4 separate regions of the Homo sapiens genome follow, and all the other regions are linked to region 4. The links are contacts of gene promoters, found by promoter capture Hi-C in blood cells and fetal thymus (Javierre and others, 2016). All regions are on one chromosome and are shown on one strand. Each heading gives the region's core, a stretch centred on a gene start or on the middle of the fragment in contact. The rest is flanking DNA. Distances are from core to core; before and after follow the strand shown.

Evidence for each region. The method cuts DNA at HindIII sites, captures the fragments that hold promoters and counts their contacts. A CHiCAGO score of 5 or more calls a contact.
Region 1: a contact is called between a fragment that was not itself captured here and the fragment with the promoter of ESF1 in region 4, in 1 of 17 cell types (naive CD8 T cells). The highest score is 5.7, in naive CD8 T cells.
Region 2: the fragment with the promoter of RALGAPA2 here is called in contact with the fragment with the promoter of ESF1 in region 4 in 1 of 17 cell types (naive CD8 T cells); the score reaches 6.2 in naive CD8 T cells.
Region 3: a contact is called between a fragment that was not itself captured here and the fragment with the promoter of ESF1 in region 4, in 1 of 17 cell types (naive CD8 T cells). The highest score is 5.9, in naive CD8 T cells.

Annotation. Positions count from the first base shown.
Region 1 is chr20:8,012,009-8,018,548 of GRCh38, reverse strand. All of the region lies in intron 1 of TMX4 (thioredoxin related transmembrane protein 4), which reads left to right. Among named protein-coding and RNA genes, the nearest start is that of TMX4, 4.5 kb to the left of the region's middle. The HindIII fragment of the contact is 801 bases long and covers 1,953-2,753 here.
Region 2 is chr20:20,708,831-20,714,888 of GRCh38, reverse strand. It overlaps RALGAPA2 (Ral GTPase activating protein catalytic subunit alpha 2), which reads left to right and starts at 2,245. Exons shown (of 40, transcript NM_020343.4): 1 at 2,245-2,514. The coding sequence starts at 2,409. RefSeq lists enhancers at 1,785-1,984, 1,809-2,103 and a silencer at 2,095-2,354. The HindIII fragment of the contact is 11,955 bases long and covers 323-6,058 here.
Region 3 is chr20:20,059,609-20,066,039 of GRCh38, reverse strand. All of the region lies in intron 2 of CFAP61 (cilia and flagella associated protein 61), which reads right to left. Among named protein-coding and RNA genes, the nearest start is that of CFAP61, 10 kb to the right of the region's middle. The HindIII fragment of the contact is 6,753 bases long and covers 1,202-6,431 here.
Region 4 is chr20:13,780,150-13,786,177 of GRCh38, reverse strand. It overlaps ESF1 (ESF1 nucleolar pre-rRNA processing protein), which reads left to right and starts at 1,259. Exons shown (of 14, transcript NM_001276380.2): 1 at 1,259-1,298; 2 at 2,995-3,674. The coding sequence starts at 3,038. NDUFAF5 (NADH:ubiquinone oxidoreductase complex assembly factor 5) reads right to left here and starts at 1,150. Exons shown (of 11, transcript NM_024120.5): 1 at 888-1,150. The coding sequence starts at 1,109. RefSeq lists enhancers at 240-929, 925-1,214. The HindIII fragment of the contact is 9,427 bases long and covers 1-6,028 here.

The DNA of each region.
Region 1 (6,540 bases), core at 1,104-3,603, 5.8 Mb after region 4:
CATCATGGTGGGCTTGCAGACTCTCTCTCTCTCTCTCTCTCTCTCTCTCTCTCTCTCTCTCTCTCTCCCCCTCCCTCCCTCCCTCCCTCCCTCCCTCCCCCTCTCTCTCTCTCTCCTCTCTCTCTTCTCTCTCTCTCTCTCTCCCTCCCTCCCTCCCTCTCTCTCTCTCTCCTCTCTCTCCTCTCTCTCTCTCTCTCTCCCTCCTCTCTCTCTCTCTCTCTCTCTGTCTCTCTCTCCCCTCCCACAACTCCTTTCCACCCTACCTGCCCCCCTCCCGCCCCCACCCCCCAAACATAAAATCTTTCAGGAAATTGCCACATCTCTTTAGCCTGTGGTTTCTGGCAATCTGTATACTACTATTGAATCTTTGTTTTACGTTGAGGACACAGACAGAAAATTGGATCTTTCCTTTATCCAAGACCAAGTTTTGATTCTTTCAATTTAAATTGCAAGCAGGTGCCTATGGAGTGAAAACCTCAGTGTGAGATCAGAGCCAAAATTTATGTCACACAGCAGATTACATTGCTCGAAGAACATAAGGCATATCACCCCTTCAAATGTGCATTTACCTCTTAGTCACAAAGAAGGGGATATTTTAGACCTCCAAATGAAATACCCTTGGTATCATAATAAATCAATGAAATTATTAAAGGGAACTGTAGACATGAATTATTAAAATATTCCACTTAACTATTTTTGGAAGAAGGTGAGGGGGTCATATTCTATTTGAGAAACTTTTAAAATAAGTGGAGCTGTGTTAAGACTTCCATGTTTGTAATAATTTTAAGAGTTTGGGATAAACTGCATTTTGTCAGCCAATACTACAGAAAGTTCTCTTTTCAGTAGGTGCTTACAAAATGGACTTTTTCCTAGATGTCATCTTTCAGGGTAAAACTGAGTTTGCATATGTATGTAAGAAAAGTTAAAACAGAAAGGCCTCCTCATTTTTAATGACTTCAACTCCTCTATGGTTCCTTTTGGAATTGCTTTTTTTTTGGTAATAGAATTAAGAACACTAAAGCCTCAATAAGTTTTTGAGGGAGAGCCAACAACATCTGTGCTTGGCCATGTTGATGGTTCAAATTTTACTTTTTTATGAATGTATAAACCTAAACATAGTAATCAATTGCTCTGAGTTTGTCATGTGTCCAGTTGTATGGAATATGCTTGGCCTGTGATGCCAGATGAGTCTTGTAATCTGGAAGTAAGCTGTGTAGACACAAGGTCATTTTAGTAGACATTCTCTTTTTATCGAGTGCACTTCAGAATAGGTGGCTAGGAAGCAAGGCTGTCAATGAAAATTGATCCAAACCATTCCATCCAACTTCTTTATACGCACTAAAACCCAAGTGCTCATCCTGAAGAAATATTTTGGTTCTTATCTATTTGTGATCTATTTTTTTCTGTATTATCAGGTGATACTCCTCCTCCTTGCTGTGAAAAAAACTCCAGTACTTAAAAAAATATAAAATTCATTATATCCTCCATACCACTAGAGGCCTGCTATGAATTTCTAAGAATTCATTTAAATAGCCTATACGTTACCAGATTTTTTTTTTTATGTATATAACAGAGAAAAACAAAATGCATTAAAATTAGCTTCATCTTGACACTTAGTTCAGATGAGCTGGTCATACATAAATGGAAATTGTTAGTAGTTCAAAGATGTTGTAGTTAACTTCTTTAAAGAAACAGATTGAGAAGCTTTTGTTGTAGTTAACTTCTTTAAAGACACAGATTGAGAAGCTTTCCGATATCAAAATGTATTCATTACTTTGAATGAGAGTTCTTTATTTGTTCATTTGCTTATATGCGCTCTTTCATCTGGGAATTTTTTCTTTTATACGCCACGTCATACAGATCCCCTCTAATGCAGTTTCTGGTTATATTGGTATAGATAATTTATTCTTAAGAATCTAGCAGTATTTGGCAGCCCTGAGACATGAAAAGCTTCTATTATGAAATTAAATTTGGTTATTTTTTCTTAGTCTTTCAAACAGTCAATTTTTTGGATTCTTGCAATTGAATTTCCAGTGTTTTAAAAATGTATGAGTTAAAAGTATATTTGCAGTAATTCACCGTTTCTATTCTGATGATTTTAGAAATCTGAAAAGTTCTCCCATTGCTACATACATTTTCTTTAATGCTATGGGCTTATTGTTGTTATTATTATTTTTTAGATGGAGTCTCACTTTGTCGCCCAGGCTGGAGCGCAGTGGTGCGATTTCAGCTCAGTGTACCCTCTGCCTCCCGGGCTCAAGCAATTCTCCTGCCTCAGCCTCCCAAGTAGCTGGGAATACAGGCACCCGGCTATGGGCTTATTGTATACTCGTTTGCCCTTTTTCTGAATTAGGAAAAATGATCTAATCTTTAAACTACTGTATGATGCATGCTTTTCTCTATTGCCATTGTTTTATACTATTCTTCATTCAGTTCCTTTGCAACCTTTTGCTACTTTCAACATTTGCTTGGCTCTCATTATGTCAGTCCTGGAGAAAATGACTTTTGTTCTTTTGAAACATGGAAGTATGTAATATGATACATTCTGGTGGCTTTTTCCCCCAGAAGAAATAGATAGCCAAGTGGCTTAATTTTGACATTCAAGCTGATACTCAGAAGAAAAGTATGTCTTTGGGTTAGTTTACCTCTGTAAAGCATATAAATCTTTATAAATTATTGCCTTTTCTTATTTTTGTTTTTGGAATGATCATGTTTCAAAATTTAAATTAAACACCTGGTGATGGAGCAAAGCTTTGTTTATTTCCATAGGACATCTAGGTTTTAGTATTATCTTTCCAGCCTTCCTTTATACCTGGAGAGAATGTGTTGAACATCATTACCTTAACTTGCCCATGTCAAGTTAGAATTTCTTGCAGTTTAATAGATTGTCTTGATGTCTTGATGGAATGTTTGAGAGACAACTCACTAAATGCTTGTGTGTCAGGTTCAGTGTTGGGGAGCTGGGAAGGTGAAGAAGAATGAGCCTTCCAAGAGATTGTGCTCTGAAGGAAATATGTAGTATAAGTTATGTTCATTTATTTAGTAAATGTTTAATGAATGCTTCCTCTGTGTTGGACATTCATCAGTGCTTCCCAACAGGACACTATTGGCATTTTGGGTGGACAGTTCTTTGGTGTGTGGGAATGGCCCACGTGTTGCAGAACCTTTGGCATACTTGCCCATTATATTCTAGTAGTAGTCTCAGTCATGCGACATCAAAAAATTGTAACTCCCATTCCCTGTGCATACTTCCAAATGCTTCTAATTGAAAACCACTGCTCTAGATACTGTTATGGGTATTTAAAAACATGCGAATGTTTGATTTTAGATGGTTTCCACAAAGGGTTTAAAGCCTCATTAAAACTTGTCATCCTTACCACTTCCATCCACCTCCTCCACTTCCTCATCATCACAATCACAGTTCATAGTTACATGGCTTACATCACATGTTCCAACTAACTGTTTTATTTGATCATTCCAGCAATCTAGTGCGGTATTATTCCCATTCTTACTGACTAGTGGAGATAAAAAAAAAAAAAAGAAAAAAAGAAGCTGGCTAATGCCAGATCCTTAGTAAGTGGGGAGCAAGGCCATAACTATAATGCAGGCCTGAGCTTTGCAGTTTCTGATCTGCAGTTCCCAGTTCTCCTGGGGAGCCTGGAGGAAGGCACAGGGCCTGGTTGACTCTTGCTTTGGCCCTCAGCTAGCCAGCACCCTGACTCACATGAGGGTAGGCCTTGTTCGTGCTGGATTCTAAGGCCCATCCAAGCTTTTACCATCTCTCTAGTTTCTGCAAGTAAAGAACATTTTTACTGTATACTCATTCCTGACACTGTTCACCACTTAAACAGGTGCCCTGCCTTCCCATCATCGCAATGCCCCAGGAAAATTCTTTCTCACTATGCTTTGGTTGTGTCTTGCATGGTCCTATCACAACCAGTAATTACACATTTATTGATATGCTTTTGTACTAGGTCTTTCTTTGACTACCTCTATTATAAGCTTTTAAGTAAAGGAACAAGGTTATTTTTTTCCTTCCCTGTTTATCTCCAAAGCTTTAATAACTAACAAGTAGTTTGTGTTCAAAAAATACTTTGTGACTAGGTAAATGAGTGAATAATAGATTAATTGCTCTTTTATCAGGCACTTCTTCAAGCATATCACTGAAGGAGACATCTTTATATATTTTCTGAAGTCTTAAGGATAATTACTATCATCTCCCATTTGTTCACTGATGGAATATTTATTGTGGTGGCCTAGGACCTTCCAGGTTCTGTTCTGTGGTGCAAGTCATGCAGCAGTCACTGCTTTCGTGGAGTGTTAATTCTAGTGAAAGTCATGAATTCCACTTTCTCTAGCAGGTGTCATGATTTTCATAGAGCTGCCAGTTTTTATGTTTCCTCTACCTTTTGTGATAACACGTTCTAGAAATTATTGTCCAAAGAAATAAATTTGAGCATAAGGCTTTCAATTCATGGGTCATTCCACATTTGCCAAAAGGAAGAATAACACTTGATGTAGTTAAGGCATCTTTTGTTGACACTTTGATTTAGTTTCCTTTATTAAGTCATAGAAAGATGAACCTAGTATACCTCTTTCCTCTTCATTGTTGCTGAGTATTCTGAGCATTTTGATCAAAGTTCTACTAAGTGAAAATTGACTGGATCTGTTATTGACTGTCTCATTTCTGCAAAGATAAGAAAAAGTCAGGAGAAAAGAGAGTGTACTGAGAAACACTGGTGAAATTAGAGTCAAGACAGAAGAAGAGTTGTTCATTATTGGTAAATAAAAATTTATCGTTAATAAAATTTCCTTTCTAGGAAATAAATATAAGTAAGTCCTTCTCTGAAATATTTAGCACACCTAATGAAATCTTAAACCAAATTCAGTAAGTTCATGGAATAAAAGATTCAAGGTCCTTCAACCTCGTTCCATCAACAAAACACGGACAACATGGACAACAAAAACATTCTGTTGAACAAAAAACGTGGACAACAAAAACATGCTGTTGAATTTTGTTTCCCAGAAATGGTTAAAAACATTGCACTGACATGTAAGTTGGTGTAATTTACCAGAGCTTTTTGGCTATCTGGAATATATTTCAAATATGTTTATGAAGTTTACTAATTTTACATACCACTGTGACCTGCAAACAAGTCAACAAAAGTTCAGTAGAAAAGATAACAATTTACAGTTTAAATGACTATAATGGAGCTAATTGCTCTTGGAGGCTCTTAAGGATTATGTGTAAGAGACAAAGTTATGGCAGGTCATATCTTTTATAGTTCTTAGGAGAAGATTGCCAGTGTGAACTAGTTTGAAATAAATTTAATGAAGATCATGTTCAATTATTTCTGATGTGTTTAATTTATGCATATATACATAAATTATATATATATGTATCTATGTGTACACAGAGTGAGAGAGGAGCATGAAGGTCACATGACTGATCCTTGCATTCATTTTGTCCCTGGAGATATTTTACTTAGTTTCTAAATTCTTATACAAATTACTGTTCTTTAGATACAAAAGAATATTAAAAACTTTAAAAACTGCAGCAACAATGGACCAGTTCCCATGCTAAAGACTCAGAGCTGGCTTATCTCTACCACTGAAAGAACATCTGGGTGCATTCCAACACAAATCAGCTGTGATTAAATCTGTGAAATAATGGCATTAACAATGCCACAGACCAGTGTATAGCAGCTATGTAGAAATGGCATATCTAAAATTACCTCAGTGGCATATCCGAGGATGCATTATAATTGTATATCTGAAGGTCAGTTTCACCAAAAACCAACTTAGTAATAGCCTATCTAGAGATTAAGTCCTGTATTTTTTAAATTATGAAACATAATTACTGATGCAGCAAATGTGCCTGTGATTTATATGCAAAGAGCGTCCTAGGGAAATAAAGAGGATCTGAAGTTCATTATATTATATTATACTTCAAGATAACTTCCTTATTCTTGTTACTTTCTTATAACTTCTTTCTCCCTCTGAATGTTGAAGTTTTATATTCCTTGACGATTTTTATCAAAGAAATACCTCCATCTGTGTTCTTGCTCTGAGTGGTCTTAAGCACATCTCTATACCTGCTTTGTCTGTTTGGCAGTGAGGCTGTAAGGTCAGATGAGCTAATGCATCGTAAAAGTGTCTTGAACCCCAAGCAGTATTACAAATGAAATTTGTATTAATGGTTGCTCCTATTAAATAAATATGTGCCTGCTTCGTATTTCATCTGATCTCTCAGTAACCTAAGGTAGCTACTGTTATTATCCCATTTTACAGTTGAGGAAACTGAGGCATGGAGAGATTATTAACCTGCCCAGAATATCATGATTAATTCCTGGTTGATCTTTCTGATTGTTATAGCAGAACTCTTATCCAACATCATGGAACGCTTGTTGAAATGTACTTGATAATTCAGAATTCCTTTTTTTCCTAAAGTTTGCCAACTGCCTGAGTCTCATCTGTTAACTTGGATATTTAGAAACTACATAGAAAATAACTTATTTTCTCAGATGAAGAATATGATTT
Region 2 (6,058 bases), core at 996-3,495, 6.9 Mb before region 4:
GACATTTATTCAACAACACTTAATGTCTGCATAACACTCGGCACTCTATAACTCCAGGGATAAAGAATTCAGTGCAAAGCAAGTGAAGCCCTCAAAGAGTTCACAGCCCAGCAGGAACGAGTTTAGAAAGAACAACAGAAAATAAGAAGAGCCATATGGAATATGCAAGTGGGTGAAAAAGTACCAACATAATAATACTATATGTTTCTTCCTTTTTAAGAGAAGAATTGGAGTTCTACATTTTCATTACTGGGTAAAGGCTAGATATGATGGGTGCGATGAATTTATATGCACAGATGCCTGTTTCTGGCATTACCAAGCTTGATAGTATCACATGTTCACTGTACACTGTCATTTATTCCCACATGTATCTAATCGCTCAGCCTCCTTAACTGGATTGGAAGCATTGGAGGTCAGGAGGATGCACCTTATACATCTTTTATCTCCAGGGTTTAGAATCATGCCTTACACATTGCAGGTGCTCAATAAATGTTTGATGATGATGGCAGCTTGCTTTGCAATTAAAAAAATGGAGTTTCCTAAGACAAGTATATTCTATTTTTTCAATCAGTGTAAGGAAAAGTATCTTCTCCTAAAGGAATTGGACAGTGAACATTGTGGTTTACTATGTGTAATCAGGTACAAGCTCAATTGCTGTAACGAAGACTCTCAAAATGCCTTGACTTAAGATAAGACATTATTTTGCTCTCTTGTTACACTTTTAGAAGTTTGTGGTCCTGATCTGTTATCATCTGGGGACTCAGGCTGGTAGGGCCGCTCTGCCATCATCTTGAGCATGGGGCTTTCATCTCCGGGTCTGAGAGTGATCCATGTTATTGGGTTTATCAGTAGTCTGTTCTTTTTTATTGCTGAGTAATATTCCTTTGTATGAATGTGTCTATACAAAGGAATATTACACAAATCTAAAAATAGAGAGACGCTCTAAAACTGTGAGTTTATTTATTTATTTTTTCCTTTTCGCCTGCCTGGTTGAAATATGTAGGACTACTTTAGCTTTTTATTGTATTTCATTTAATAAACTTTTATTGAGTGACCCTATGGGCCAAATACTGTGCTGAGGGATGGGGATACAAAGGCGTGTAAATCCTTGTCTCTTCCCTCAAGTTACAGTTCAGCTAGAGGAGAAAAAGACAGTTGTGTTGTCCCAATTTGGATGGAAACCACGTGATTCTACCTTAAGTACTTGCTGAAAAAGCTGAAAGGATGTCAAAACTTGCAGGATTCGGATGCCACTATACAATCCTACAGTGTAAGAAATCTCCTGACCATCTTTCAGCTCAAAGTCTTGCCCCAGGGAATAAGCGCCTGGCTTTAAAAAGTATACAGGCCTGAGTCAGATCCCTCAGGTTCTATTTCTGGTTCTGCTACTGGATCGCCATGTGGCTTGCACAACAGAGAACGCACCCTTCCTACAAAGAGGCAAGATCCCAAGGAGCCCTCTGAGCGAGCGACCTCCATACCCCAAGTGAGGTTGGGTTCCAGGAACCTAGGGGCCGGCTGAACTCCTCACCGGGGCACGCTCTTCCCTAGTGCCAAAGCAACTCATTTTAGTGTGAAATTAGAGCTGCGATTTCGGCACGGTCAGAGGGGCTTCGACTCGCTCCCTTGTGTGAATCCAGAAGCTAAACCTAAAAATAGTTTGCATTTGAAAAGCCTTGACACTTTTCTTACTGAGATTTTTGGGCGTGTGTGGTTCACGTTGCACTAGAGGAAAATGGGGTGGGCGCGCAGGAGGGAGAGTGAAACCACGGGCGATCTAGGCTGCCGGGGCAGGGGACGGACAGAGGCCGCCCTGCGCTTCTGCGACCCTGGAAAAGAGGTCGCAGCGCGTCGCCTGCTGGAGAACTTCATTTCCCAGGAGCACTTGCGGCCCGCGGCAGGGCGGGGCGACGTGCCCAATGCCGGCCCACTGACTCCCATCGTGCCGAAGACCGCCAGCCTGATTGGAGGACTGTCTCGCGGTGCATCTCGGGACTTGTAGTACAACGTGTGCGTGAGAGAAGCTCCTTTGTGATTCGAGGCGCCTTCTCGGCCCTCTGAGCGCGTCCCCGCTAGGTTTTGGCGCGGACGGGCTAGTGTCCCGCCAGGAGAGTTCGGCCTGTGTGCGCGTGCGTAGCGCCCAAGGGGCCGGCCGGCACCTCCCGCGGGGCGGGGCCTTCGGTTCCCCGTCGACACCGCCTTCCTGCCCCGCCCCTCGCCGTGACCGGCCCGCCCCTCCTTCCTGGAGACACAGCTGAGGCGGCGGCGGCGGCGGCGGCGGCGGCAGCAGCGGGGCTGGGGGCGGCGAGTGGCCCGCGCGACACGCGCCGGCCTCGACCCTATGCTTTGATTCGCGTGGCGCAGGCGCCTACTGCCCCGCCGGCGGGGCCCGGGCTTCCTGCCGCGGGATGTTCTCCCGAAGGAGCCACGGGGATGTGAAGAAGTCCACCCAGAAGGTGCTGGACCCGAAGAAGGACGTGCTGACCCGCCTGAAGCACCTGCGGGCGCTGCTGGGTGAGGCGCGCGCCGGGCGCGGGGGTCGGGGCGCCGGGTTAGGGGCACCTGCCGGGAGGGCGCTCCTCTGTGCAGGGGTCGGTGGCTGGGAGGCTGGGGAGGGGGATGGGTGGGCGTCCGACCCCCTTCCCTGGATCTGGGCTTGGACCCCCGGGGCTTTGTTTCCAGAAAGCCGCAGCCTGGCCCTCGGGCACTGCTCCCGTCGCCCTCGAGTTAAACTTAGCCCAGATTCTCGCTGGGCGCCTGCGCTCCCGGAGAACCTGGAGGCCGGGCACAGAGGTACCTGTCCCCTGTCCTCCCAGCAAGTGAACTGGATCCCAAGTGGTCATCACGTGCACACATTGAACTGTCACCTCCCCCTTTCATTTTTAAAATTTTATTTTTGAGTCTGAGACCCTAAGTAGACCGAGACCCCAAGTGAACCCAGCACAGACCTAATTGGGCTCTCATCTCTGTCATCCCCCTTTTAAATTTTATTTTTACTTTTGAGTGTGAGACCCCCATATAGACCGAGATTCCAGGCGATCCCAGCACAGATTTGTCATCTGTCTTCCCATGCTGCTTTTTAAATTTAATTTTTATTTTGGGTCTGGCTGCTTCAGTTTCTTTGTGTCCTTGGTGTGAAGGGGCCTTCTCTTCCTGCTTGGAGAGAGGGGTGGTTTTCTTGGGTTCAGGGAGGCTGCTTCTCCTTTATTACCGGCATGACAGTGATGCTGTCTGCCACCTTCTGGTTTATGGCCTGCCAGGTGGAGGTTCTGAGGAGCTCAGGTGGGCTTGGAGTTGACCTGTGATGAAGCTCGCCCCTGTGGGTGTGAGGTGTCCACAAGGCTTCCTGTCACCTGCTGCATGTGATCTGTAGCTGGTTCGCCTAGGCTATGTTTTGTTTTCTGTATTTTTTTACATCCTAAGTCTTAACTTTTCTTTGGGATGAAAACACCTTTGCTATCTATAGACACACTTACCTGTGTATTTGGTGGCGAAGGAAAGAACACCTTATGTTTCTTCCAGGTGTCTTTTAGTCCCAAAATTCACAAAAATCGCCTAGTGCTAATGTGTCTGTCACTTGAAAGAATATTGCATAAAATGATTTAACGTGTGAAGATTTTAAATAAAGATCTTGTTCATGAGATCAGAAGTTGCTGATTATTTCTATTTATATTCTACCTCTGAGGGGGAGAAGAACCCAAGCCAAACCAAACCACACCTGATTTTGCCAAGTGAAGTTATTCACAATCTCACATACCTTGAGGTTACACTGACTTGTTCAGTTTGAAATGAAATGTAAATTAGTTGCTGTTACAGGGATTCGTTTTCAAGACTTTTGAGAGTGAAGTGTGGAGAGTGAAGTGTGGCGTTCTTGGTAAACTGAATTTTCTACTTCCTGTAGATACCATGCACGCACAGGTTGCACAATACACAGGTTGCATTGTGTGGAGTTCCTGGTAGTGACTGATTAACACCTACTGCAGGGACATTTTTGATAAAGGAGAGTTGAGCTGTGTTTTAAAGCGTTTGATACTTTGAGCCTTTTTCTGTGCTTTAGCGTTTAAATTTTTGTTCTGTCCAGGTCTGCAAGATTAAGTTGGCTACATTTTATAAAGGCAGAATCAAGTAAACCTAGATCAGGTTATTTCTTAGCACACAGTACATTGTTCCCATTCTGAGAAAGTTGATTCTTTTCAAGTTTGTAAAATTGTAGTTTCACTCTAAGGTGTAGGTCTTATTTTAGGGAACTTTCTTTTATCATTTCACTGAACTCATCATGACCTCAGTTTTGTAACATGGAGAGGTTCTTTTATATTTCCTTAGGTGTATGTTTTTTGTTGATATACTTACTAGTGGAGTGGCCCAGTTTGCTTTGTTTATTACTGTGATCTTTGTAGGGACTAGATTTTTGTAAAATGTGTCTGAGGAATTCTAGTCATAATATTTAATGTAAACTTTCACTTGCTCCTGTGATTTATTAAAGACTTAAAAAGTAGTACGTAATGCACTAGTTCCTACCTAATCACATATTCTATTTCATTGCTACTCGAAAAAAAGTCTACTTAGAAAACAAAGGCCTCTTGAACTGAAAGTTAGGAATTAAGCCAAGATTAAGGAAACTATTTGAAGGAAATGAATAGTAATTACTATTGTATTTTTATGTGTGTATTTATATAACACTTTTGCTTTTCATATATTTTATCTTCAAGTGATAATAAAGTTTTTTTTTAAGTATGCAAAGATTATGCCACTTACTTGGGTATTTGCAGCCTGTCCCTGCCGCCTGCAGCTTCATGACTTGAGCTAGTTACGTAGCCTGTCTCTGAACCTCGGTTTCTTTGCTCTGTAAAATGGGTATGGTAATGTTTGCTTTTTAAAGGATTATTGTGAGTATGATGAATAAATGACTTCAGCTTGAAGTAGGCCTTTAACAGTTTCTTTCCCATTACATATCTCCCACCATTAATAGGATAGGACCAGTATTTTGATAGGTAATTTTTCTCCGTCTTTCTTATTTTTGATAATAGTGATGAATTTGTTCTCTTTTCCTAAAAAGTAGTCTGTATTTAAAACAACTGGGTGAGAAACATAAAATTAGCTGTGGAAGTAGAGTATTTCTTAGTATCATGGTAATAACTCCAATTTGGATGTAGATACTTTCACCTGGCTATAGACTGGTCTGGTATGATTAACTTTATTTTACAGAGGGGTAAGCTGAGGCACAGGCAGGCTTGACACGTATCAAGCCATGTAGCAGACGGTTTACTTATGTTAGAGGAAGAACGAAGAGCTGTTAGGTCCTGTGACTTCCAGTTCTTCCTACACTGTTGACAAAACAAAAACCAAAAAACCCTGTGTATTACCATATTGCTCCAGCAAAGATTCCATGTCTTTTTTTTAACAGGATCTTTGCTCTGTTGTCCACGTTGGAGTACAGTAGTTTGACCTTGCCTCAACTGCTGCAGCCTTGGCCTCCCTGGCTCGAGTAATCTCCCACCTCAGCCCCTGGAGTAGCTGGGGCTACAGGCATGTACCACCACACTAGGCTCATTTTTGTATTTTTTTTTTTTGAGATGGAGTCTCACTCTGTTACCCACGCTGGAGTGCAGTGGTGCCGTCTTGGCTCACTGCAACCTCCGCCTCCTGGGCTCAAGCAATTCTCATGCCTCAGCCTCCTGAGTGGCTGGGATTACAGGTGTGTACCACCATGCCTGGCTAATTTTTGTATTTTTAGTAGAGACAGGGGTTCACCGTGTTGGCCAGGCTGGTCTTGAACTCCTGGCTTCAGGTGATCTGCCCGACTCGGCCTCCCAAAGAGCTGGGATTACAGGTGTGAGCCACCATGTCCGGCCAGATTTTTGTATTTTTTGTAGAAGACGGGGTTTTGCCATGTTGCCCAGGCTGGTCTTGAGCTCACAGACTCAAACGATCCTCCCACTTCAGCCTCCCAAAGTGCTGGGCTTACAGGCATAAGCCACCATGCCTGGCCAGATTCTAATTAAAAGTTGAGTGCTTACTATGAGTCCTAAATTAGGATATAGAACTGGCATTGATGTAG
Region 3 (6,431 bases), core at 3,329-5,828, 6.3 Mb before region 4:
TTTGAGAAGTGTCTGTTTGCCCACTTTTTGATGGGGTTGTTTTTTTTCTTGTAAATTTGTTTAAGTTCTTTGTACAAAAGATTTTCTAAGATTTCCATCATAGAGAAACAGCACTCGCTTTTTCTGCTTGATTTAACAACACCATCACCCAGAAACCTCAGAGTTTCCTCACATCCATTGCTCACAAACTGCAGCCTGGGCACAGTTCTGTCCCCCCGATCGCCACTGTGCTATTTGCACTGGACGCAGGTGATTCTTTCAGCCCTTTCCCCACTCATCGGCCATGCCCAATCTGCTAAAATTTAGCTGGATTTTTAGGTGAGATCAGTTTTATTCATTCCTCTATTTCTGTAACTGAACAGGCAGTCAATAAAATAAAACCAAACACACAGACCACAAAAGAACCACCTTTTTTTTTTTTTTCAAAATGTCTATAAAATAAGTCATTAAGCCTTGCAGTTGACTTGGCCAGGGGACAGGAGTTGCCTAATATAAAAAATGAAACACTGTGTGGGCTTAGTAGCAGCTGTTTTGGAAGCTTCAGGACATCAATGAAAATTTAAATTTGCTTTTACTTCTGAAAATACGCTGGCTTCTAAGATAGGTTGCAACCTTTTCAGTTATAAAGATTCCATTTTAACTTTTTTTTTTTTAAATGTTTGGGGTCTGAGCAAGGGGAAGGCTGGAATTACTGAGATAGGAAAAGTGTGGGAAGAGTGGATTGAATGCAGGTGAAGATCATGCTAGGTTCCAAGTGCCTACTAGGTATCCAAGGGTTGGCATTCACCAGGAAGCTGGATAAATGAATTTGGAATCCAGAAGGTTCTGTCATCGATGTCAGATGTTTTTCACATTTATACCATAAATTCACCCAGAATTAATTTTTACAAGTTTTCTACTACATGAGGTTGGTTATTATTTTCTTTCCCATGTGAATAACGAACACTCCCAGCACCATTTATTGAGTGGCACATCCTTTCCTCACAAAGCCGTCATCAAATTTTCATATAGTATGCGTCTGTTTCTGGGATCTCTATCCTGGTCCATCTGTCTTTTGTCAAAATTCCCTGCAAATTACCACACTGCCCTGATTATTATACCTACAATGAACCTTTAGTTGGCAAGCCTCTCCACCTTATTTTTCTTCCTTCAGATTACCCTGAACCTTTGCTTTCCCACACAAATTTAGACTCATTAAGCTTGACAAATAATCTTGTTAGGATTTTGACGGGGGTGGAGAGAAACTAACTTTATGATTTGAATCTTCCTGTCCAAAATGTGGTCTACCTCTTGGGAAATACCGTAGTCCCCCCACTTCTCCGTGGTTTCATGGCCCACAGTTTCATAGTTAATTGCAGTCAACAGCAGTTAGAAAATACTAAATGGAAAATTCCAGAAATAAACAATCTATAAATTTATAATTGCATGCCATTCTGAGTAGCAAGATGAAATTACGTGCCATCCCAGCCCGTCCTGCCCAGGAACTGTCCAGCAGATCCACACTGTAGATGCTGCTGCCCATGAGTCACTTAGTATTAGATCTGGTAACTGCCTTCTGTTACCAGATCGACTGTCACTGCATCACAGTGCTTTGGTTCAAAGTGCAAGAGTAGTGACGCTGGTAATTCAGACATGCTGAAAAGAAGCCGTAAAAGGCTTCCTTTACACAAAAAGGTGAAAATTCTCAACTTAATGAGGAAAAAATAAATTGTATGCTGAGCTTGCTAAGATCTAGGGTAAGAAGAAATCTTTAATCCGTGAAATTGTGAAAATGGAAAAAGAAATTCCTGTTAGTTCTCCTGTCGCACTTCAAACTACAAAAGTTATGGTCACAGTGCATAGCAAATGCTTAGTTACGATGGAAAAGCCGTTACATTTGTGGGTGGAAGGCATGAACAAAAATGTGTTCTGACTGATAACAATCGGATGTGGTACCATCCTCAGTTTCAGACATCCACTGGGGGTCTTGGAATATATTCCCCTCAGATAAGGCGGGGTGGGGGGCGGTTACTCTATTTAGGCTTTCCTTAATGTCTTTCAATAGTTGACAATTTACCCCATAATGAGCTTAGAGTTATTTTGTCAGTTTTATACTAGGTACTTTATATTCTTTGGCATGGGTGTAAATAGAAAAATGTTTTCTGTTCATTGTTAGTATATAAAAATGCAATGGGTTTTTATTCAATGACTTCATAGCCAGCAATTTTGAACTTCTATATTCATTCTAATTCACATTCCTTTCCATTTGCTAAGTAGAGAATATATTACCTGCAAAAAATGACAATTTCGTTTCTTCCTTTCAAATCCTAGTACATTTTATTGCTTTTTCTTTCCCTTACTGCAATAGCTAGGATCTCATGACAACAGGCATCCTCATTTACTATACAGGGATTCTTTTAATATTTTATCATTACATATGGTGTTTGTTAAAGGTTTGTATACATATGAGAGTCATCTTATATTCTTATTAGGTTAAGAATTATTACTAAGAATATTGCATTTTATCGAATGATTTTGTCTCTGTTTATTGAGATTATTAGATTTTCTCCTTTGTTAATTTGATGAATTAGACTAATCAATTTTCTAGTATTAAGCCAATCATGAATACCATGATCAGTTAATCATAATCATATCTTTTTAGTTCATCATTAGATTCCTTTCCAATTTTTTTTTGAATTTTTACATCCATGTTCATGAGCAAGGCATGAACATTAATTTCATTTCTCTTTCTATGTGAGATTGGCCGTTAACTTTCCTTTCTTGTACTGTCTTTGTCTTATTTTGATATCAACATTATGCTAGCCTCATAAAGTGAGCTAAAAAGTATTCTCCATCTTTCTGCTTCCAAGAACTTGTATTTATTTGGGACATACCCAATCCCTGAATCTTTGGTAGGACTGCTTATAAAGGCACTTGTGCCGACCATTTTATTGGCGGGAGGATTTAAAACTAACGATTCAATTTAATGGGTTTCTATCATTTCTTAAGTTGATTTTAAGAAACTTTTCTGGGACCCCATATTTTCAAATTTATTGGCATGCAGTTTTTTTATACAGGTCCCCAATCCCTTTAAATCCATAAAGCCCTAAAAACTGGAAGCAGCAAAATTGGACTTGAAGTGACAGGAGGTTACTCTACAGTCTTGATCCCATATATAAAATATTCTTACATTTTTACCACAGATATCCTAACGTGTGTAATTATGGAAAATCTCTCCAGCCCTTGTGGGTGGAATTCAATAATATTTCATCAATGGAAGAAACTAATTTTTTAAATTCTGCTTTCTGAAACACAACTAGTCACGAGGGATTTAGTTAAAGGATTGTGGATCTATAATGCCCTTTTATTACCTGCTTAACCTCAGCAACATTTGTGATTATGTCCTTTTCACATTACTTTGAAAGTTTTTCTTTTTTTCCTGATTAATCTTGTCAGATTTTTTTTTTCTTTAGGCTTTTTAAAGAACAAACTTTTGGCTTTGTTTATCCTCTACCAGATGCTTGTTTCCTGTTTCATTAATATGCGCTCTTGTCCTTTATTTTCTGTTTTCCTTGAGTTGATTCGACTGTTCTTGCTCTTAGAGGTAAACTCTGAACTTTATTTCAGGCCTTTCTTCTCTTCTGTTATAAGCATTTAAGGTTATAAGTTCCCTCTAAGACCTGCTATTTTGTTCAACTATTTCTGCATAACAGATTATCCCAAATTTAGTGGCTACTCTGTTTTATTTGCTCATGATTCTATGGGTGAGAGATTCAGACAGGGTACAGTAGGGGTATCTGTTGGGGCAAGAACCTCCAAGACGGTTTTTTTCCCTCATGTGTCTTGTGCCTCAGTGAGGGTGGCCCAAAGGGGCTGGGGTGTGCCTGGAAGAGTGACATGGGGCCTTCCTTCTTGCTGGAGGCTGGGCTCCTCAATTCTCCTCCATGTAGGCACACACTTCTCTCTTACGATATGGCCTCTCTGGGTGGTATGTCCAGTAGAGTAGCCAGACTTTTTACATGGTAGTGCAAGGCTCCCAAGATCACAAAACTGAAAGCTCCCAGCAAAGGCTCGAACTAGGGTGAGGCCAGAGGGACCCAGGGTTCAAAAATGGAAGGAGGTGTTCACTCTCAGGTTCATGCAGGGGCCCTAGCTGGGAGTGAGTACCCAGGATACCCTGCGTGCCTCTCCTGGGCCAGCCCTGCTGCCAGGCCATCTTAACGCTTGGGCCTGGGACCAGGACAGCCCCACTTCCATTACATTCTGTCAGGGGAATCACAGGCTCAACAAAGATAGAAAACATGGGGACTACAGCAGGGAGAATGGCACAAAAAGGCATGGGGAACACAGGGAGGCGGGAGAGTCTCCAGTGCTCTACCTGTGATTTTCACTTTTATCTATTTTAGAACTGTGTTGTTAGAAGCATATAAGTTTAAAGCTGTCATAGCTCTCCCAACAACAGTTTTATCATTATATAGTGACCCTCTTTATCTGTAGGGAGCTTTTTGTCCTGAACTATACACTGTCTGCTGTTGATATAGCAATACTAGCCCTTATTTTGGGTGAGATTTTGGGTGGCATATCTTTTTTCCTGATACTTTGACTTTAAATATTTCTGTGACTTTATATATGAGGTATGTCTCACAAATAGAATATGACTGTTTTGTTTTGAGCCAATCTGCCATTCTTAATCTTTTAATGGAAGATTTTTGTCCAGATGCATTTATTATGATTGCTGATATAGTAAAATTTATTTTCTTATTCTGTAATTTTAATACATTCTATGCTTTTTGTTTCTTTTTTCCTCCTCCTGTCTTGTCCTCTTTTAGATTCAGGGTTCATTTTAAATTTCTCATTCCATTTTTCCCTCTATAGATCAGAAGTTATCATCTCTACACCTGTTCTTTTAATGATGATCTTAACCATGTTAATATATATTCCTAACAGTCTTTATTATCTGTTCCAGTTATCAACTGATGTGTAATAAACCACCCCAAACCTCAGTGGCTTTAAGTAGCAATTATTATCTCTCATGGTTCTGTGGGCTGCCTGGGTTGAACTAAGCAGTTTTTGCACGGTATCTCAGGCTATCAAATGGCAGCAGTGGCTAAAGCCATCTGAAGACTCAGTGTCTAAGACGGCTTACTTGCATGGTTGGCAGCTGGTGGCAGTTGCTAGCGGGGAGCTCAGCAGAGGCTGTCAAATGAAGCACCCACAGGGAAACATGTGACTGGAGCTTTCATCAGTGTGGCACTGGGTTCTGAGAAGGAGCACTTCCGGAGACCCAGTGGAAGTTGCAAGACTTCTTATGACTTAGACTTGAAGTCAAATAGAGTCTCACTTCTGCTGCTTTCCATTGGCTGCATAAGGCGAGCCATGATTCTTTGTGAGAACAGACTACACAAAGGCGTAAGTGACAGGATGTGTGGCTCATTGGAGCCAGGGGAGCCTGTTTGCACACCACTTACCACACCCTCCATCTTAAATAAAACCTGAAGGATTCTTTCATTCTAATCATGCTCCTCCCAATTTATATAATGTTTTTGTCCTGAATCTTAGTTTTAACATATGGTTTATACCTCACAAATCAGTCATTATCAATATTATTGTTTTATGCAAGTCATACTTTTTCTTAGATTTACCTATATATTTTCCATATTTTTGTTGACATTCCTTCTTGTGTTTTGAGCTTTCCAGCTGAGGTATTCTCTGTTCCTCCAAAAACATATTCTGAGGAATTTCCTCCATTCAGAGTTTATTGGCAAATGACTTAGGTTTTTGTTTGTCAGAAAATGCATTTATTTTCTCCCAGGTCCCCTAGGAATTGTTTCACTGGGTGAAACAATGTCACAATTCTAAATTGATGTTATTTTTCTCTCCACTATTGAAGATATTCTACTATCTTCTGACTACTATTGTGGCTCCTAAGAAATCTATTAGTCTAATCTTTAGTTCTTTGCAGGTAACTTGGTTTTTTTTTTTTCCCCCTCTGTTATTTTTCAGATCTTTTTAACTGGAGTGTTTTGCTGTTTCATTATGATGGGTACAGTTGGGATTTCTCTGTGTATTTATCCCCTTTGGGATCCACTGAGTTTTCCAGATGTAAGAAGTAGTGCTTTCCAACAATTCTGAAAAACTCTCAGCCATTCTCTCTTCAAATATTACCCTTTGGCTTCCTATTATCTTCTTCTAAAAGTCTAACTAGACTAGGTCTCATGCTTCATTCATATTTTTTCTCTTTGTGTTGAGCTCTGGGTAATTTACTGGTATTGATCCTCCAGCTCATTACTTCTGTCTTCAACTGTGTCTATGAAGGATGTTTAATTCATCTACAGAGCTTTTAATTTCAATTACATTTTAAGTTCTAGATGGTCTATTTCACTTTTGTTTAAACATGATTATTCATTTTTATAATTTTTTATTTTTTATTTTATTTTATTTTTTAGATGGAG
Region 4 (6,028 bases), core at 10-2,509:
CCAACTTTGTTCCACTCCTGAATAAAAATTTACTGAGGCCTGAACTTGAGAATGCGTGTCCTGAAAGTAGAAACCCTCAGTCTCTGGCTCACCTGGGCAGGGAGAAAGGTTTCTCAAACGAGCCAAGACAAATCAGAAATCTTAATTTGATCTTCCTAAAACATAAGTCAGATCACTCCACTGATTAAAACAAGAGCTTCACATTCCCCTAGAGCAGTGCTGACCAAAAATCATGAGAGCCACATATGTAATTTCAAATTTTCTAGTAGCCACATAAGAAAAAAAGTAAAAACGAGAGAAATTTTAATTGAAAAATTTAAATTTATATTTAATATATTTCATGTGACCCAATATATCAAAAATAATCACTGCAACATGTAATCAATATAAAAGCTCTTAATGAGCTATTTTACATCCTTTTTTCATACTAAGTCACTATACTCGTGTGTATTTTACAACACATCTCAATTGGACTAGTCACCTTTCAAGTGTTCAACAGCCACATGTGTGGCCGGCAGTTACCATACTGGCTGGACAGTGCAGATACAGAAGAAAACCCCAAGTCCCTATCCTGCAAGGCCCTGATGATTTGGGTCCTCCTAACCTTCTCTCCCACTCTCTCCCTCTCCGGAGCTTCACTGGAGGCCTCTATAAGGTCCTTTCAGCCTCAAGGACGTTGCCGAAATGAATGCATGAATGAATGAAAGCATGTTACAAATATCCGAGGCCAGGCCTTGCGTGATTACAGTAGAGGCCGAAAGAGGCAGGGCTGCTGGTCAAGGTCAGACGGCTAGGTGGGGTGAGCTCGGGGCCTAGCCGGAACTAGCGGAGAGGAAAACAAGCCTCCGCGTCGCCCGCCCCGCCGCCCCGCCGCCCCGCGGGCTCACCTCCTCCTTCAGGTAGTCAAATTTGGTCGGCTCGGGCTGCCGGGCTGCCCAGTTCTTCTGTTTCCTTTTCAAATCCCGGTCGAAAATATTCAGGGTTCTGGGCGAGGTGCTACCGCGGGGAGAGACACCAGAGGTGACTTCCCTACGGCCAAGATTCTCCGCTGGGACCCTCGCCGCCCAAGGTCGCCGACATAAGCGCCAGAGCCCTGCCGGCCGCAGCATCTCCAGCTGCGACCCCAATTGCCGGCGCTTTTTGTGCGCATGCGCCAGCGCGGCTTTTGTGTCTACTCCAAAGATCTTCTCGAGGGAACGTGCAAGTAGTTTGGCCTAGTTCGCTTGCCATTACGGCGGAGCGTCACGCGGAGGATTGTGGGTGTGAGCCCCACGTGAGGCTTGGTAGGACTGCGGACGGTGAGTGGGGATGGACTGGAGTTGAAGAGCTCGAGATGAAGGGCTTGAGGGCGTGTGTGTGTGTGGCGCGGGGAAAAAACTAGTCTCTAACAGGATCTCTTTCGGATCTGCGAGGGGTTTTGCCCCTTCCTCCTGAGCCTTTTTCGGTCTCATTCTTCAGTCTTCATCGATCCTTTTCAGGGTCGCTTCTCGAATCAGTCTGTTAGCTGCCCCCCTGCGGTACAGGAGGTGGAAAGGAGACCCTAGTTCAGGGGCCAGCCCTGTGTTCTCCGAATTAGAGAGCGGGCAGAAGGGGAGGGTGGGCTACGGGGATGCGGGCGCGTGTCGGGAGTGAGGTCCGGTCGCCTTCCCCTCTCTCGGATTATCTGACATATAATGAGTGCTTTCCTTCTAAACATTTACAATACATGCAGTACTTCTCCTGGTTGAGGTGGTACCTACCTCGTAAGATTGCTCAGAGAGTTAAGTGCTGTAATACATCGAAAAATGTGTAAATGCACCAGCGATAGCTTCCTTTTTTTTCCTAGTTAGTGTAATTAAAAGGACTTGATTTTTAAATAAGAAATATTGCCCTTTTAATCATTTTGGGGGGGGGTTGCTTAATAATCAACGACTTTTGGCTCTTTGCAAAATTCCCATCCAGAGATGCTAAACCATTGGAGACTTTTCACAAGGGAACAATATTAATTTATACACACATATGTATATGTTCTAGTATGTTTTGGGGGAATGAGCTCACTTGGGCCTTCATCACTGGTAGAATCAGATATTATAGAAAGAAGTGATATTTATTAACTGGTGTGAGACTTTACCTGGAGACTCAAATTTACTTTTTATTTTTAAACTTTTTATTACTTTTGAAGGATGATCGAATTTAAAAAGGAAACTTTCTTAGCTAAACCTGAGTTGATTTTGGTCTGTTTAGTTAGAATGCTAGTCTTACAGAACTAAAGGCTGTTTGTTGGCAGTAGCCGGAGATAAGGAGTAAGCAGAATGAGACCAGAATGTGAAGAAACAAATGAGGCCAACGGAGGCTAGGGAATCTTTCTTTCTTACTTTTTTTTGGTAGACAGGGTCTCACTCTGTTGCCCCAGCTGGTGTGCTGTAGTGCCGTTAGGCTCACTCTAGCCAAGACCTCCCGGGTGGAAGTGATCCTCTTGCCTTAGCCTCCAAAGTAGCTGGGACTACAGGCGCGCGCCACCATGCCGGGCTCATTTTTGTATTTCTTGTGGGGATTCACCATGTTACCCAGGCTGGTCCTGAACTCCTGGGCTCAAGTGATCCGCCCGCCTTGGCCTCCGAAAGTGCTGGTGAGCCACCGCACTCGGCCTAGGGAATCTTAACTACATTTGCCTTCAATTAGTAACACATACTGGTATACAAATAGAAATTCTAAGTGAGAGCAATGGATGAATAAACATTTGTTCCCCTCCATAAAGCCCTGGGATTCTGCTTTGTCTACCTTAAGTTTATTTCTCTAAATGATCTGTCATGGAAAGAGGATATTTTGGTATGTTTCTGCTTTTTTGCATGTGACCCAGAATACGTTGGAGAGATGAAATTAGACTTGTTACCTCTATTTTATGTACACTTAACTTAGAATATATTAACTTAGAATATATTGTGAATGTGTTTTAAAACATTTAATTATTGTACTAACCATTATTACCATTAAAACATTTGTTTTATTTTTCAGTATTTGTTTTCTTCAAGCATTTGGTCGAGATTAAGAATTAAAAATGTCATCCAAACAAGAAATAATGAGTGACCAGCGGTTTAGACGGGTTGCAAAGGACCCGAGATTTTGGGAAATGCCAGAAAAGGATCGAAAAGTCAAAATTGACAAGAGATTTCGAGCCATGTTTCATGACAAGAAGTTCAAGTTGAACTATGCCGTGGATAAAAGAGGGCGCCCCATTAGCCATAGCACTACAGAGGATTTGAAGCGTTTTTACGACCTTTCAGATTCTGATTCCAATCTCTCTGGTGAAGATAGCAAAGCATTGAGTCAAAAGAAAATAAAGAAGAAAAAAACCCAGACTAAAAAAGAAATCGATTCAAAAAATCTAGTTGAGAAAAAGAAAGAAACCAAGAAGGCTAATCACAAGGGTTCTGAAAATAAAACTGATTTAGATAATTCTATAGGAATTAAAAAAATGAAAACCTCATGTAAATTTAAGATAGATTCAAACATAAGTCCGAAGAAGGATAGCAAAGAATTTACACAAAAAAATAAGAAAGAGAAAAAAAACATTGTTCAACATACTACAGACTCTTCTCTCGAAGAAAAACAAAGGACATTAGACTCAGGCACCTCTGAAATTGTGAAATCTCCCAGAATCGAGTGTTCTAAGACAAGAAGAGAAATGCAATCAGGTAGGTTGGAAAAAATTAGAGATTCTTGGGTGTTACATTATTTATTTTTATACTGATCTTTCAAAAATGTAAACACATTAATAAGTATTTTCATAGTATTATGGAATGGTCAAATGCTTATCTGGAAATACAAAGCTATAAAAGAAATATGCAGTGATTATTAATTTTTGATGTGGTGCTAGAAGACAGACATGAAAATTTGAATCTTGAAGTTAAACAGTGATTTTGATTAGTGGTGAGCCCTAATGAGAACTATATTCTCTAACCAGATAAAGTGTTATATGTCATCACATGATAAGAAGAGATGTGTCTAAAGAGGGTAAGTAGGCCGGACATGGTGGCTCACGCCTGTAATCCCAGCACTTTGGCAGGCCAAGGCGGGCAGATCACTTGAGGTCAGGAGTTCAAGACCAGCCTGGCCAACATGGTGAAACCCCATCTCTACTAAAAATAAAAAAAAATAGCCAGGCATGGTGGCGCACACCTGTAGTCCCAGCTATTCGGGAGGCTGAGGCAGGAGAATTGCTTGAACCTGGGAGGTGGAGGTTGCAATAAGCTGAGATTGCACCACTGCACTCCAGACTGGCTGACAGAGCGAGACTCTGTCTCAAAAGTAAAATAAAATAAATAGGGTAAGTAGGACTCCGTCTCAAAAATAAAATAAGAGGGTAAGTAGAGTTGAGTACTCATTCATTAATTTGTTCAGTTGCTTTGCCACTAGTATGTGGCAGGCAGAATATGAGTAAGGCGTCGTCACCCATCTCAGGGCTGTCGCTAGCTTATATGATGCCTTTATGCAAATTAGAAAAAGGCATGCTCTCTGGACACACAGAGCTCCCAGGGGTCACACTTTGGTGAAGAGATGGCGCCTTTGAAGCAACAGATTTTTTGCCCCTGAGCAGACACAGCCCCCTCCAGAGTGCATGGCTTGGTGAGTGTAGGATGGCCTTGATTTTAGCCCTTCTTGTCCTTTTATAAATGCCCCTGTGCGGATAACAGCCTGCTAAACTTTGTGCAGTGGCCCCTGTCTAAAGCAACATTGTCTAGTAGAAATACATAATTTTGGATTTTCTAGTAACCACATTAAAAAGTAAGATGAAACAGGTAAAATTATTTTAAATAATATATTTTATGTAACCCAATATATCAAAATTATTTCAATATGTAATCAATATAAAAGTCAATGTATATTTTACATCCCATTTTCTACTCATTTCATACTAATACTATTTTCATATTAATGTCAAGTTAGACAAAACGCATTTCAAGTGCTCCGTTACCACATGTGACTACTGGCTACCATATTGGACAATATAGATCTAAAGTAGAAGAAAGTCAGAACCATAATACAAAATGCAATAATAGTAAGTGCCGTAAAAGATGTTTAGCAGAAAGCCATGGAAATCTGGAGGAAGAAGTCACTCAAGATGTGGTAATCAGAAAAATTCATAGGGGACGCACTACTTTGGGGTGTGGAAAAATTTAAGTTTGAGGACCAGAGTGTGCTACATGGAAAGAACTTTTTGAGCAAAGATGTGATTGGGCATGTTCAGAAGAGGTCAGTAGTCCCGTTTGATTAGATAATAAGGTCTTGAAGGGCCAAAATGAGTAGCAGCGAGAAATGATTGTTTGGAACTAGGTGAGAGACAGCTGGCTCTAGTTTGCATTACGTGTTTACTAATTAAAATTTTTTGTCACCTCCAGCAGCAAGCAATTTTGAGTGTTGATGTTGCTGATAGTTGAAGATGTAACTGAAAACCAGTAGTAGTTCACATGAGCCAGACCTGTGATTACAGGATCCAAGGAGGGGTCTTGATAGGCCGAGAGGTCTTGATAGGCCAAGAGGTCTTGATAGCCCAAGAGTTCTTGATAGGCCAAGAGGTTTTGATAGGCCAAGAGGTCTTGATAAGCAGAGATCACACTGTGAGGGTAGAAGGTATCAGGCAGTGGAGTGAATTCTGGATAGCAAGGACTAGGGAGTCAGTGGTGGTATCCCATTTTACATTTGTAGTGGAACCAGGCAGCAGACCTCTTGAGGTGTGGGAAGAAAGGATAGGAATCCGGTTACTAAAATTGAAGAATAAGATTGGAGTGGGACCGGCAGCAAAGTTGATTTGACACTGAATTAGTGAGGTAAGTTAGTCTAGCATCCACTTCATTTGGGGCACTGAATTAATATAACATAGCTATATAATCCTTTAGATTGATTTTACAGACTTTTTTACATATCTTTTCTCATTTAATTTTCTTAGTTACCTTGAGCAATAAGACTGTATCAGCGAACAAGATTAAAGTGACTTATGTAAGGACATGCAGACCTGGAACTGCAACTCAAGTCTTCTGACTCCTTCTAC